Regions from separate parts of the Homo sapiens genome. Here region 2 is linked to region 1. Evidence: promoter capture Hi-C in human tissues and cell types (Jung and others, 2019). All regions are on one chromosome and are shown on one strand. The core of a region is centred on a gene start or on the middle of the fragment in contact, and the rest is flanking DNA. Distances in the headings are between cores, read along the strand shown.

The links. The method cuts DNA at HindIII sites, captures the fragments that hold promoters and counts their contacts. A contact is called where the count stands out against the background at its distance.
Region 2: a fragment that was not itself captured here is called in contact with the fragment with the promoter of ARRB1 in region 1 in 1 of the 25 tissues and cell types used here (mesenchymal stem cells).

Annotation. Positions count from the first base shown.
Region 1 is chr11:75,348,741-75,354,622 of GRCh38, forward strand. It overlaps ARRB1 (arrestin beta 1), which reads right to left and starts at 2,921. Exons shown (of 16, transcript NM_004041.5): 1 at 2,848-2,921. The coding sequence starts at 2,867. RefSeq lists enhancers at 2,062-2,111, 3,174-4,129 and a silencer at 2,662-2,941. The HindIII fragment of the contact is 14,768 bases long and covers 1-5,557 here.
Region 2 is chr11:75,577,189-75,583,070 of GRCh38, forward strand. No RefSeq gene overlaps it. Among named protein-coding and RNA genes, the nearest start is that of MAP6-AS1, 3.1 kb to the right of the region's middle. RefSeq lists a silencer at 942-1,110. The HindIII fragment of the contact is 6,092 bases long and covers 1-5,617 here.

The DNA.
Region 1 (5,882 bases), core at 1,671-4,170:
GCATGTGCCACCACACTCAGCTAATTTTTGTGTTTTTTGTAGAGATGGTATGTTGCCCAGACTGGTCTCGAACTCCTGAGCTCAAGCAATCTGCCCATCTCAGCCTTCCAAAGTTCTAGGATTACAGGCGTGAACCACCGCGCACAGCCCTGTCCAGGTATTTAACACCTCTTTCCCCCTTGACCCTGGGAGTTCCTAGAGGGCAATGACAGTTTGTGATAAATTTTCATTGTCACTTTCACATGGGGGTGCAATTCCAGATGGAGGGATGGTTGCGATGATTCCTGATGTTCAGTTTTTGATATCTGCAGATTCCTCTTCTAAGTCATAGGTACTCATGCCTTACGGAAAAAGACAAGGTACAGCCCATTACTGATTTTGCCCTTCTTTTCCAAATTACTTAGCCAACTGTCCGGAAAGGGACAGAAAGGCCTCATGGGGCTGCAGGAGAGTCTGAAGGGGAGGTCTGGGCCACCATCAGGTGGATTTAGCCGGGCCTTGGCTCCAGGCTTCAGGCAGTGCCTCTTCCCCTGCCCAGTGAAGTCAGTAAGTACAAGGGAAGCCCTAAAATGTAAGTATTGATAGCTCCAGTTTACAGATGGGAAACTAACGTCCGGAAAAGTAAAGGCAATTGCCCAATGTCCCAAAGGTCCACCAGTGAGTTTGAGGCAGGGCAGGGGGAGCCATGGAAAATACCTTGGCCTCAGAGACAGGGTCTCCAACAGGTGCCTGGAAGCCCATGGTGTCCACATCTTCCTGACAATCATGTCAGCAGGACAACAATGACACTTATCCCCCAAGTCACAGAGAGGTACAGAGAGACCCAAGAGAGGCTGAGTCACTCCGATCACAAGGCAGCCTAGGAAGGACAATGGAGTGGAGAATGGCTCCGACTCCCTGCTATGCCCTGCAGGAAGAAAAGCCTGACCTCATGGGTCAAGAGGGTCTTAATTTCAGGGCAGATGGATGTGGCTGGGGAAGGAGTCACATACCTTCCTACTGAGGACAGAGGCCTAGGTCACAGTGCTGGCCAGCCAGCTGCAATGGGGACTAGCCATCAAGGTTCATGCAGACACAGCATGATCTTCTGCCGTCCCCCCCAAAGCCTGGGCCTCCAGCACAGAGCAGGGCTCCCCTCCCTGGCCCATGAGGGGCCTGGCAGTGCCCTAGGGCCATCCACAGAGACATGACCAAGTGGACTCCAGCCTCCGCCCTGCCTCTGGCCCCTTTTGACCTTAGGCAAATCACATGGCCTCTAGCCCTCTGGTTCCTCTGCTAGAAAACAGGAAGAGGAAAATTAACCTCCTGGAAGAGCTGTCAGGAGGATGGCTGGAAAGTAGTTTCTAAACATTAAGAGCCTGAGTTGCCTCTGAGCCTGTTTCCTCCTCTAGAAAATGGAAATAATCTCTGCAAGCCCTTTCTCACACTGTGGAGAGAGAGTCTTAGATGGCAGTGGGTGAGAAATAGCTTTGTCAGTGGCCCTGAAAGGTGGTGCCCACCGGGGTGGTGTCTCTCTAGTCTGTTAGCTCCTTCAGGGGAGGAGTGGGCCTTGCGCATCTTTGATCCCCCACACTACGCCTAGTATACAGCAAGAGCTTAATAATAAATGGAAACGAGGAGAGGGGAGGGGAGGAAAGGAAGGAGGCAGAAGTCGGACACAAGAATAGAAGAGAAAGACAGAAAACAATGAGAAAGAGGGGGAGCCCAGGGAGAGGCTGCTGTGCCCACTTAGGGGGTGGGGAGGGCAACGGGGAAAATAGGGTGGCAACGCTGAGCCCCTGACCAGCGCTGGTCCTGTCTGAAGGGCTGCCCCCAGGGGCTGTCCTGCTCCAGCCCCCTCCTCCTTTTGTCCCAGTTTCCCCTTTCAGAGGCAGAGACTGTTTCTGAGTATTTCAGGACAGGTTCTAGGAGAACGGGAGGGGTTCTCCCAGCCCTAGGTTCAAAACAGCCCCTGGCCAGCCACTCCTCAGGAGGTCAGAGGGAAAGGGAACAGAGTAGATGGATGGGATCTATTTGGATGAAATGCGATCTGTTTTCCCCAGGCTGGGGGTGGCGGGGGGCGCTCTACCCTGTGTGATGTGTGTGTTTCCACTTCTGGCCATGTGGGGCCTGAAGCGTGTGTGTCAGCGGGCCTTGGGCTAGCAGCTCGTGCCTGTGGGGTGCCAGTCTTTGAGGGCATCAGTCTGATTGTGTCTGTGGGGGTCAGTGTTGGTGTGGCCTTGCGCTCCGCTGTGTTGGTGAGACATGCCAGCACAAGTGTGTGTGCCAGTGAGGGTGATGTGTGTGCCAGCAAGAGTGTTTGCTACAGCGAGTGCAGGTGACAGTGTGCGTATCAGTGTATGCCCACACGTGTGTGCCAGCACGAGGGTGTGCTAGAATTGGTGTGTGTTGGATTGTGAGCTGTGCATGCCAACAAGGCTGTCAGCAAGAATGTGTTGACCGAGGCGTGTATGACGGCGTGCCACTGCGTGTGATGAGCGTGTGCTAGCGGTTGCCAGTGTGTGCGCCAGCATGCCTGTGCCACGGGTTAGTGTGCCCGTGCGTGTATTGTGTGTCAACCTGCCCCCGTGCGTCTCTGCGGCTGCCGGCCAATGCTGGGTGTCAGCGAGCTGTGTGTCCGGGCCAGGAGCTGCGGCCCACATGGGGCGGCCCGGCCCTCGCCCTTTGGGTCCCCCCGCCCACGGCCCTGCCGGGGAGACCACACAGGAGACCTCGGGTGGAGGAGAGCTGGTACTAGATCCCGCGGTGGCCGCGAACGCAGAACCAGGACGCAATCGGAGCCCCCGCCCGTGTCCTCGCCGAGGTCGCCCCCACGCGCCCCCCGCCGGGCGGCCGCCCTGCACTCACCGGGTCCCTTTGTCGCCCATGGTCCGCGACGGTCGCAGGGAGGTCCGCGGCGTCAGCGCCCAGGCTGGAAAATCCCCAGCCAGCAGGAGGAGCGCGGGCCAGCCCGCTCCCGGCTCCCTGCTCCGCCTCCTCCGCTCTCCCGGCCGCCGCCGCCGCCCCCGCCCCCGGTCCCCGCCCGCCGCCCGCCGCGTCGAGCAGCGCAGCGCCCGGGCCGCGGCCAGGGGCGTGGAACCGCGCGGGGTGTGTGCGTGTGTGTATGTGTGTGTGTGTGCGCGTCTGCGTGTGCGCGCGCCGCCCAGCGAGGCAGGGCAGCGCGGCGGGACGCGTCAGGGCCCCAAGGTCGGCGTTTGTGGTGGGGGAGGGGGTCCACCCGCGTGCGAGTCCGTGTGAGAGTGTGTGTGTGTGTGTGTGGTGGTGGTGGTGGTGGTGTGGTGTATGTGAGGGCGCACGGCTGTGTGCGGGCCCTATTAGGGAGTGTATTGGTGTGGATGGAGGAGTGTGCACGTCTTTGTGCAGTTGTGCGTGTGTGCGCACGGCCGTGGGTGCGAGCGCGCTCTCCCGCGCATGCCGGGGCAGCCTTTGTGTGTGCGGGTGGTTGGAAGCCGAGGGTCTGGCGACCCCGAGGCCGCGCTCCCTGCGGCCCCTCGCTTAGCTGGAGACCCCGGGATGCCTGGCAAGGCCTTCGCCCTGTGCTCCACCCTTCCCCATTCCACCCACCCCACCCCCTTCTACTGGAGAGATAACACCCAGCCACACAACAGGGACAGGAAGAAGGGGCGGAGGGGGCAGTAGACGGCCTTGACACTGGGGAACTGAGCGGAGACCCGCGGCCAGCAGGGGCTGCAGGAGGCCGCCCAGGAAGAGGAAGCTGTGAGAAGTGAGAAGAGGCGATAAAGGAAGAGGGCAGAGCTGGCCCGCTGCTGTGACCGGGTAGCACCGTGGAAAGCGCCCATGCCCAGCTCCATGGCTCGCTGTGGGTGACCCTGTGCACTAAGCTTCTGAGAACCCATGTCCGGACCTGTAAAGTGAGGATACACTAATATCAGCCTGCAGAATTGTTAATAGGTTGAAAGAACTCGCTTGTGTTTGCTGGCCTCCCCTGAGCGCCTGCATACAGTAGGTGCCCAGTAGATGTTAGCCCACTTCTCTGCAGGCTTCTTGATGTCCTGTGAAATCTTGGCTGGGACCCTGCTTTGTCTGAGGTGCCTTCCTGCTTTGCAGGTAGTGGGAAACGGTAAGGTCTTTACCACACCCTCACTACTGAGATTTGGCTAATTATCCCGGATAGGTCCCTGATATCTAAGTATTAAGGGGAAAGTAAGCTATCATTTACTCTGATGCTGTTGTGAGTATGTAAACATCTCCTGTAATTATGCTCAGAAGCAGTTACCTATACTGTTTATATGCAGTATAATTACTATAATTATGTCCAGATTTGGCAGAGGGGCAGGGGGAGGCTGATGGGTAGGCAGGGTGGCCCACCTCTGGGCAATGTTAGGAGCTAGAGAGTATGGATGAAAGCCCAGAACCCTCCTCCCAGTCTTGGCCTCTGGGTTTCACCCTCTACAGAGGAAGAAGAGGAAGCCACCTGTTGTTTCTGCAGGGCTCAGAGATCTGGAAAGGAGCAGACTAGAATCTTCTTTGATGACAGGAGATCCCTAACCAGGATGGTGAAGCCAGGTCCTGCCACTCTCCACATCAGTTTCCCCACCTGTAAAACAGGTTTGACCAAACCATAAGATCTCCAATGGATCTCTCCATGCTGATGCCCAAAACATCTAAATATATTTATTTATTTTATTTATTTTTGAGACGAAGTCTTGCTCTGCCACCCAGGCTGGAGTACAATGGAATGATCTTGGCTCACTGCAACCTCTGCCTCCTGGGTTCAAGAAATTCTGCCACCTCAGCCTCCCCAGTAGCTGGAATTACAGCCACTGCCATCATGCCCAGCTAATTTTTGTATTTTTGTAGAGATAGGGATTCACCATGTTGGCCAGGCTGGTCTCGAACTCCTGACCTTAGGTGATCCACCCACCTTGGCCTCCCAAAGTGCTGGGATTACAGGCGTGAGCCACTGCTCCCGGTCGATTTAATTTACTTTAAATTCCAGTGAGGGAGCAACGATGGCAGAAGAAGAGTCAAGAGGACAATTTTGCTTTACCTGCCAGGCTCTATGAAAAACATATATATATATATATATATATATATATTTTTTTTTTTTTTTTTTTTTTTGAGACGGAGTCTTGCTCTGTCACCCAGGCTGGAGTGCAGTGGCGCAATCTCGGCTCACTGCAAGCTCTGCCTCCTGGGTTCGGGCCGTTCTCCTGCCTCAGCCTCCCGAGTAGCTGGGACTACAGGCGCCCACCACCACGCCCAGCTAATTTTTGAAAAACATATTTATGTATTAATAAAATGGCCGGGCATAGTGGCTCATGCCTGTAATCCTAACACTTTGGGAGGCCAAGGCGGGTAGATCACTTGAGGTCAGGCGTTCAAGACCAGCCTGGCTAACATGGTGAAACCCTGTCTCTCCTAAAAATACAAAAAAAAAAAAAAAAAAAAAATTAGCCAGGCATGGTGGCGGGCGCCTGTAGTCCTGGCAACTTGGGAGACTGAGGCAGGAGAATCACTTGAACCTGGGAAGTGGAGATTGCAGTGAGCCGAGATCACGCCACTGCACTCCAGCCTGGGTGACAGAGCCAGACTCCATCTCAAAAAAAAAAAAAATTAATAAAATGTAAAAGTGATAATGTTGAGGAGAACTCTTTGTATATCCACAATATAATCTCAGCCAGTAATAAGTTTTATGAAGAAAATAAAGCAATAATGAAACAGGGTGATAGGGACAAGTAGACTTAGAAAAAGGCCCTAGGCCCTCCGAGGAGGTGGGCTTTGGGCTGAAACCTGCGGAAAAGAATCAGCGATGTGAGGGGACAGTCAGGGAAGATGCTGCCCAGGCAGAAGGAGCAGCAACTGTAGAGGCGCAGGAGCAAGGACAGTGCTCCTGGTGTTGGTGAACAGGCAAGGGGTGG
Region 2 (5,882 bases), core at 1,322-3,821, 230 kb after region 1:
CTGCCGTTGCCAAATTACGTAGTCAATTTATCAGTTGAATTCATAGGACTGCTCTGTCTCAGGTGAAACTTAGGGCACTGACCTCGATGAGAATGAGACAGTGTCATATGGGAAGATATGGACAATTTAGAGGCCCCCCCCCGCCCCCGCCCCCGCCCCCGCCCCAACAACATCTACTCCACCGCGCCTCCTAGTGGCAGAAGCAGTCCTTGCTCCTCTACCTGCGGAGGCTCCTGCTGCCTTGCCCGAAGATCTTGCAATGACCTTGCCTGGAAGTTATCCTGCAGCGTTTTAGTTATTTATTGCTGAGTAACAGGCCACTCCACATGTAGTGACTTAATTGGGTTTGCTCAGATGACTGCAATCACTGGATGCTGGGCTCAGCTGGGATAGTTGGAATGGCTGATGCTGGGCCTCTCTGTCTACAGCATCCTCCTTCCCAGTTTCTTCATGGCACGGTGACCTCAGGATTCCGGGAGAATGGAGGCAGGAGCTAAGCATCTGAGGCCTGGGCTCTGCAACTTGCATTATGTCACTTATAATACATTCTCCTGGTTAAAGCTAGTCATCAGGCCAACCCAGATTCAAAGCGTGAAAACTAGACTCCTCTTCTGGAGCATAATATGGTGGGCATCTGTCACCTGAGGAGAGGCCAGTTCTCTTCATGCCCCACTCACGTTGTCTCCAGCCCCATCATGGATAGATCCTTGCCTGCCTAATTCCTGAGTCAAGTCTGGGAGGAGGCAGCACACACATCAAAAGAATTGCAAGATTTTGCTAACTTATATCAGCAAAAATCTGGATAGCGTATATCAGAATGTTTTCTGTGGGTGCTAATCCAGGGACGGAGGAATATGACTTTCACCGGGCTGAATTTATTAATATAGGTACATTTAGCTGAGATTCTAGATTCAATGTGCCAGTGTGAGCAGCTAGGAGTGGTTTTGTTTGCTTAACTGGTTGACTGACTCCTGGATTCAATCAAGGCCTGTGCTCATTGAAATTGAGATGCCAGAAGTTCCTCGTTTTAATATAGAAGATGCAATCCAAAGACCAAGGGAGGGAGGAATGTTGAGGTGACTGTTCCCTGTGTGGCCCACTCCCTCTCCTTGGCTAAGCTCCACATGCCTAACTTCCTCTTGTACAGAAAGACCCCCTTCACCAAGGCACCCAGAAACACATGAGTGAGGGAAGCATCTCTGAAGCATGTTGCAGCACTTGCTCTCTGTGGGCTCGGCATACTGGTGGGAGATGCTGCCATGAAAATGGACTCCATGATTTCAGTGGAAATGATAGGACCCCAGGGGAGCAGAGGGCGAGCAGCACTCGACCACCCAGGACATCAGACCTCAGGTGGCAATAAGCATGTTCTGACCATAGATGTCTTCAGCAAAGGCTGATCAATCAAGGACCAAATAAGACCAAGGAGACCAAACAGATGGGCAGCTCTTAAGGTCCTCCTTAATCTCTCTTTCTCTTTTTTTTTTTAGATGGGAGTGCAGTGATGCGATCTCGGATCGCTGCAACCTCCACCTCCTGGGTTCAAGTGATTCTGCTGCCTCAGCCTCCCTAGTAGCTGGGATTACAGGCATGCACCACTACACCCAGCAAATTTTTGTATTATTAGTAGAGACAGGATTTCACCATGTTGGCCAGGCTGGTCTTGAACTCCTGACCTCAGGTGATCCACCCACCTTGGCCTCCCAAAGTGCTGGGATTACAGGTGTGAGCCACCGCACCTGGCCCTCCTTAATCTCTATAACAGAAACAGGAAATCAAAACAACCAACAAACAAACACAAACCCTCTAGAGCTGGCAAGTGGAAGCTTGACTTGAGCCACTAAGAACAAGATCTCAACCTCTCACCCAAAGTCCCTAGAATGAAAGAGAGGCCAGTACCCTTCAGAAAAGCCCCTTGAATAGCACCAGAGATACATACTGTAAATCATTCCTTCAGCCTTCTGCAAACGGTCCTGGGCCATTTGCCAGAAAACTGTGCTCTGTGGAAAGAAAATACTCAAATTTTTCAGGGATTAGTGGATGTTAAGTCTATTTAATGTTAATTCCTGAGGACCCAGAAAGCTGCTGTGTAGAGGCTCAGGTTGGTCAGGTAATAATTGGAGTTTTGACCCAAGTGCAGTGGGACCCTGAACCCATTCTGCAATTATTATTATTTTTTTTTTACTTTCATGATATATAATTGGAATTACAGGTAGAATTCATACATGAGCCTCCAGACCTGTGGAATAAGCGTAATTATGGCAAAATGATCAAGTGGAAACCCCTCAATCTCCTCCTTCTTACCAAAATAATACACCAATAATAAATTCTGGGGAGTAACAGGAACTTGTGCCACCATCAAAGACTTGAAAGATGCAAAGGTGGTTTCTGTCACATTTCATTTAACTCATCTATTTGGTCTGTGCAGAAGGCACGGGTCTTGGAGAATGACAGGTCATTACTGTAAGCTTACTCAGGTGGTGAGTTCAGTTGCAGATGCTATTATTCCAGGTGTGGTCTTTTTATGGGAATTATAATTGTTTTTTTGTCACAATGTAAAACTATCTGATGAGTTATGTTTTCTTGTCCTCTACAGACAGTCCCCTTAGCAGTTTTCTTTCTGTTGGCAGGGATAGCAGTACACCTTTCTCATCTTGTCTTGAAACTCCTCAAGTCTCTGATTTTCTATGTAGATTTTGATCATCCTCCCATATCACAGGCCATTATATTTGTCCACTACATTGATTATACTATGTTGCTAGGATTGGGAGAAGGAGAAGCAGTGGGTACTTCAGATGCATCAATAAGACATAAGTGTGCCTAAGAATGGAAGTAAGTTTCATGAGAACATAGGGGCCTGCCAACCACGTGAAGTTCCTGGGTGTTCAGTGATCTGGATCCCTGCAAAATGAAAGACAACTTGCTGGGCTTTCTGCCTCTTACTGCTAATAAGCACAACACTTCTTGGGCTTCTATGTATTCTGGAAGCAAAATATATTGGTGTGTTTCTCTGATCCTTATAAGGTTATTGAGTAACCTATAAGGCTGCAGGGTTGGAGTGGGGTCCAGAGAAAAGGAAAGTTTCCAGGTGGTCCAGAATGAAAGGCAAGCAGCTCTGCCACATGGCCCTGATAGCCCAGCCGATCCCAAGATGGCTCAAGTGTCTGCGGCAGATGGGATGGTATTTGAACCCATGGCAAACTCTGATAGAAGAATCAAAATGGAGTATCTACAATTTAGGAGTGAAGCCTGGTGCTCCTTAGCAAGCAGTTTTCCTCCTTTTGGGGAAGGACTCTTGGCTCACTGCTGGCTGGGCTTAGCTGACAGTGGTCTCAGTGTGGGAGGCACCAAGGGATTGTGAAAGTAATTAATGACTGTAACACACAGTGTGTTCTTTTCTCAGGGATACTTGGGTTATATGTGCTCAGTGGTTGCTAAATGAGATGTCAGTAAATTATGCATCAGGTATGAAAACACACTTGACTTCTCTCCTTTCTTATCCCCCTTATCCGAAATCGGGCTTCTGTTTCTTCTACTCTAGAGAGTCTACAATTGCCAAAGTCAGTGATCTCTTTATTGCTACTTTAAAAAAAACTAATTTCAGCCGGATGCAGTGGCTCATGCCTGTAATCCCAGCACTTTGGGAAGCCGAGGCGGGCAGATCGCGAGGTCAAGAGATCGAGACCATCCTGGCCAACATGGTGAAACCCCATCTCTACTAAAAATACAAAAAATTAGCTGGGCATGGTGGCATGCGCCTGTAGTCCCAGCTACTCGGGAGGCTGAGGCAGGAAAATCACTTGAACCTGGGGGGCGGAGGTTGCAGTGAGCCGAGATCACACCACTGCACTCCAGCCTGGCAACAGAGTGAGACTCCATCTCAAAACAACAACAACAACAAAAAAAACTAATTTCGCGCCTATGAAAAAAATTCCAACATACATGACAATTAAATAATAGTACACATAGCTGGGCACGGTGGCTCACGCCTGTAATCCCAGCACTTTGGGAGGCTGAGGCGGGCAGATCCTGAGGTCAGGAGTTCAAGACCAGCCTGACCAACATGGTGAAATCCTGTTTCTGCTAAAAATACAAAAATTAGCTAGGCGTGGTGGTGTGCGCCTGTAGTCCCAGCTACTCGGGAGGCTGAGACAGGAGAATCACTTGAACCTGGGAAGCGGAGGTTGCAGTGAGCGGAGATTTCACTACCACACTCCAGCCTGGCCGACAGAGTGAGACTCCATCTCAAAATAAATAAATAATAGTACCCATCACAAAACTTCAATATGTAACGACATTTTGCCCATTTTGTTCAACAGATTCTAAATCCATATTGCAGGGAAGCCGTTATGGTCTCTAACCCTGTTAACTCTTCATCCTTGATGTCTTCCCCAAGGTGACATTCCTTTCTAGTTTTCTTCTGACTCCTCTGCTGCTTTAGGGCAGCCTCCACTTGGGGGCTCCTTCTTTTGCCTGTCCCCTGAATGTGGGTGTTTCCCAGCGCTCTGACCTGACCCCATCCGTCTCTCGCTTTCCACACTCCTGCTGGGTAAACTCACCCTCTCTCATAGCCTTTTTACCTTCTGTGGGTTGGCGAGGCTCACATTTCAATGAGGTCTGCATCTCCGCCTTCAGCTCAGACCCTTTTCCCAGTCTCAGACCACCATGTCCAGAAGTCTGGACACCAAATTGAGTCCATCCTCCTGCCAAAACAAGCTGTTTCCTGGATTCCCATTAATCCACACAACAATAGAGATCTACTCATATTTATTAGATACCAATTTTTATGTAAGAAAAAAATGTAAGATTCTGGAACAAGCCAAAGAAATTACTGCTACATGAAAAAGATGGACAATAACAAGTGTTGGTAAGGATGTGGAGAAACTGGAACCCTCCTACACTGTGGGTGGGAATGTAAAACAGTGAAGCCCTGGCCCACCCAGAACCAGAATAAACGCCGTAGAGGATTTTTCCCCTTTTCCCCCCACTTCAAGAGATGGGCTCTTGAGCACAGTAGAATGATCAGAGCTCACTGCAGCCTTGAGCTCCTGGGTTCAAGCCTCAGCCTCCGAAATAGCTGGAACTACAGGCATGCACCACCACACCCAGCAGAGGATGTTGAACTGATGGCCCAAGGTGGAGAGGGAGTGAAAGTGCAGGTGCTTTGATGGATGAGGGATGGAGTGGCTTCCCTCCGGGAATGAAGGTGTGCAGAAAGGGCCACGCGCCTGCGGGCTGGGTTGCAGGGCCTCTGAGGGATGGGCTCAGATGTGGAAGCTATAGGAATGCCTGGGCAAACTGGGCAGAAATACCACAACCTGGGCAGGCTTTGGGAGGTCCCCAGCCAAGCCCTAGGGAGAGGGAGAGGGGCTGCCAGCCCCCCGGCTTGGGCTCAGGGAAGCCATAGTGATTCTTCTCAGGATGGCCTGAACCTCCTGGAATTGTGATAAGCCCCAAAGACAGGATGAGGCTCCAGGAAAATGACTAATATCAGATTTCCTGTCAACCGTGGCAACGAGAGAAGGGGGCTCCCAGTCTATTTAATTAGATTTACCAAAATAAAGACGTGGCATTTCTTACACCTGAGTGCCATGCTGTGATGCATAGACTGAATTACAAATTGTGAGATGGGTGAGGTAAGAGGGGGTGGCCATAGAGATAGTGAAAAGTGGGCAAATTTGCTATTTAGCAGGAAGGCCAGGCAGGTCTTACTGATAGTTTGGAAGCTGAGGGTCGGAGACTGGTACTGAAAAGGATTTCCCGGTTTCTGGCTGAGAACTGGGTCAACCCGAGTGCATTCCCACCCACTTCCTCTAGACCATCCATCCACTCAGCGGCACAGACTCCCGAAAGTGTCGCTCCAGTCCGAGTTGGCTCCTGTC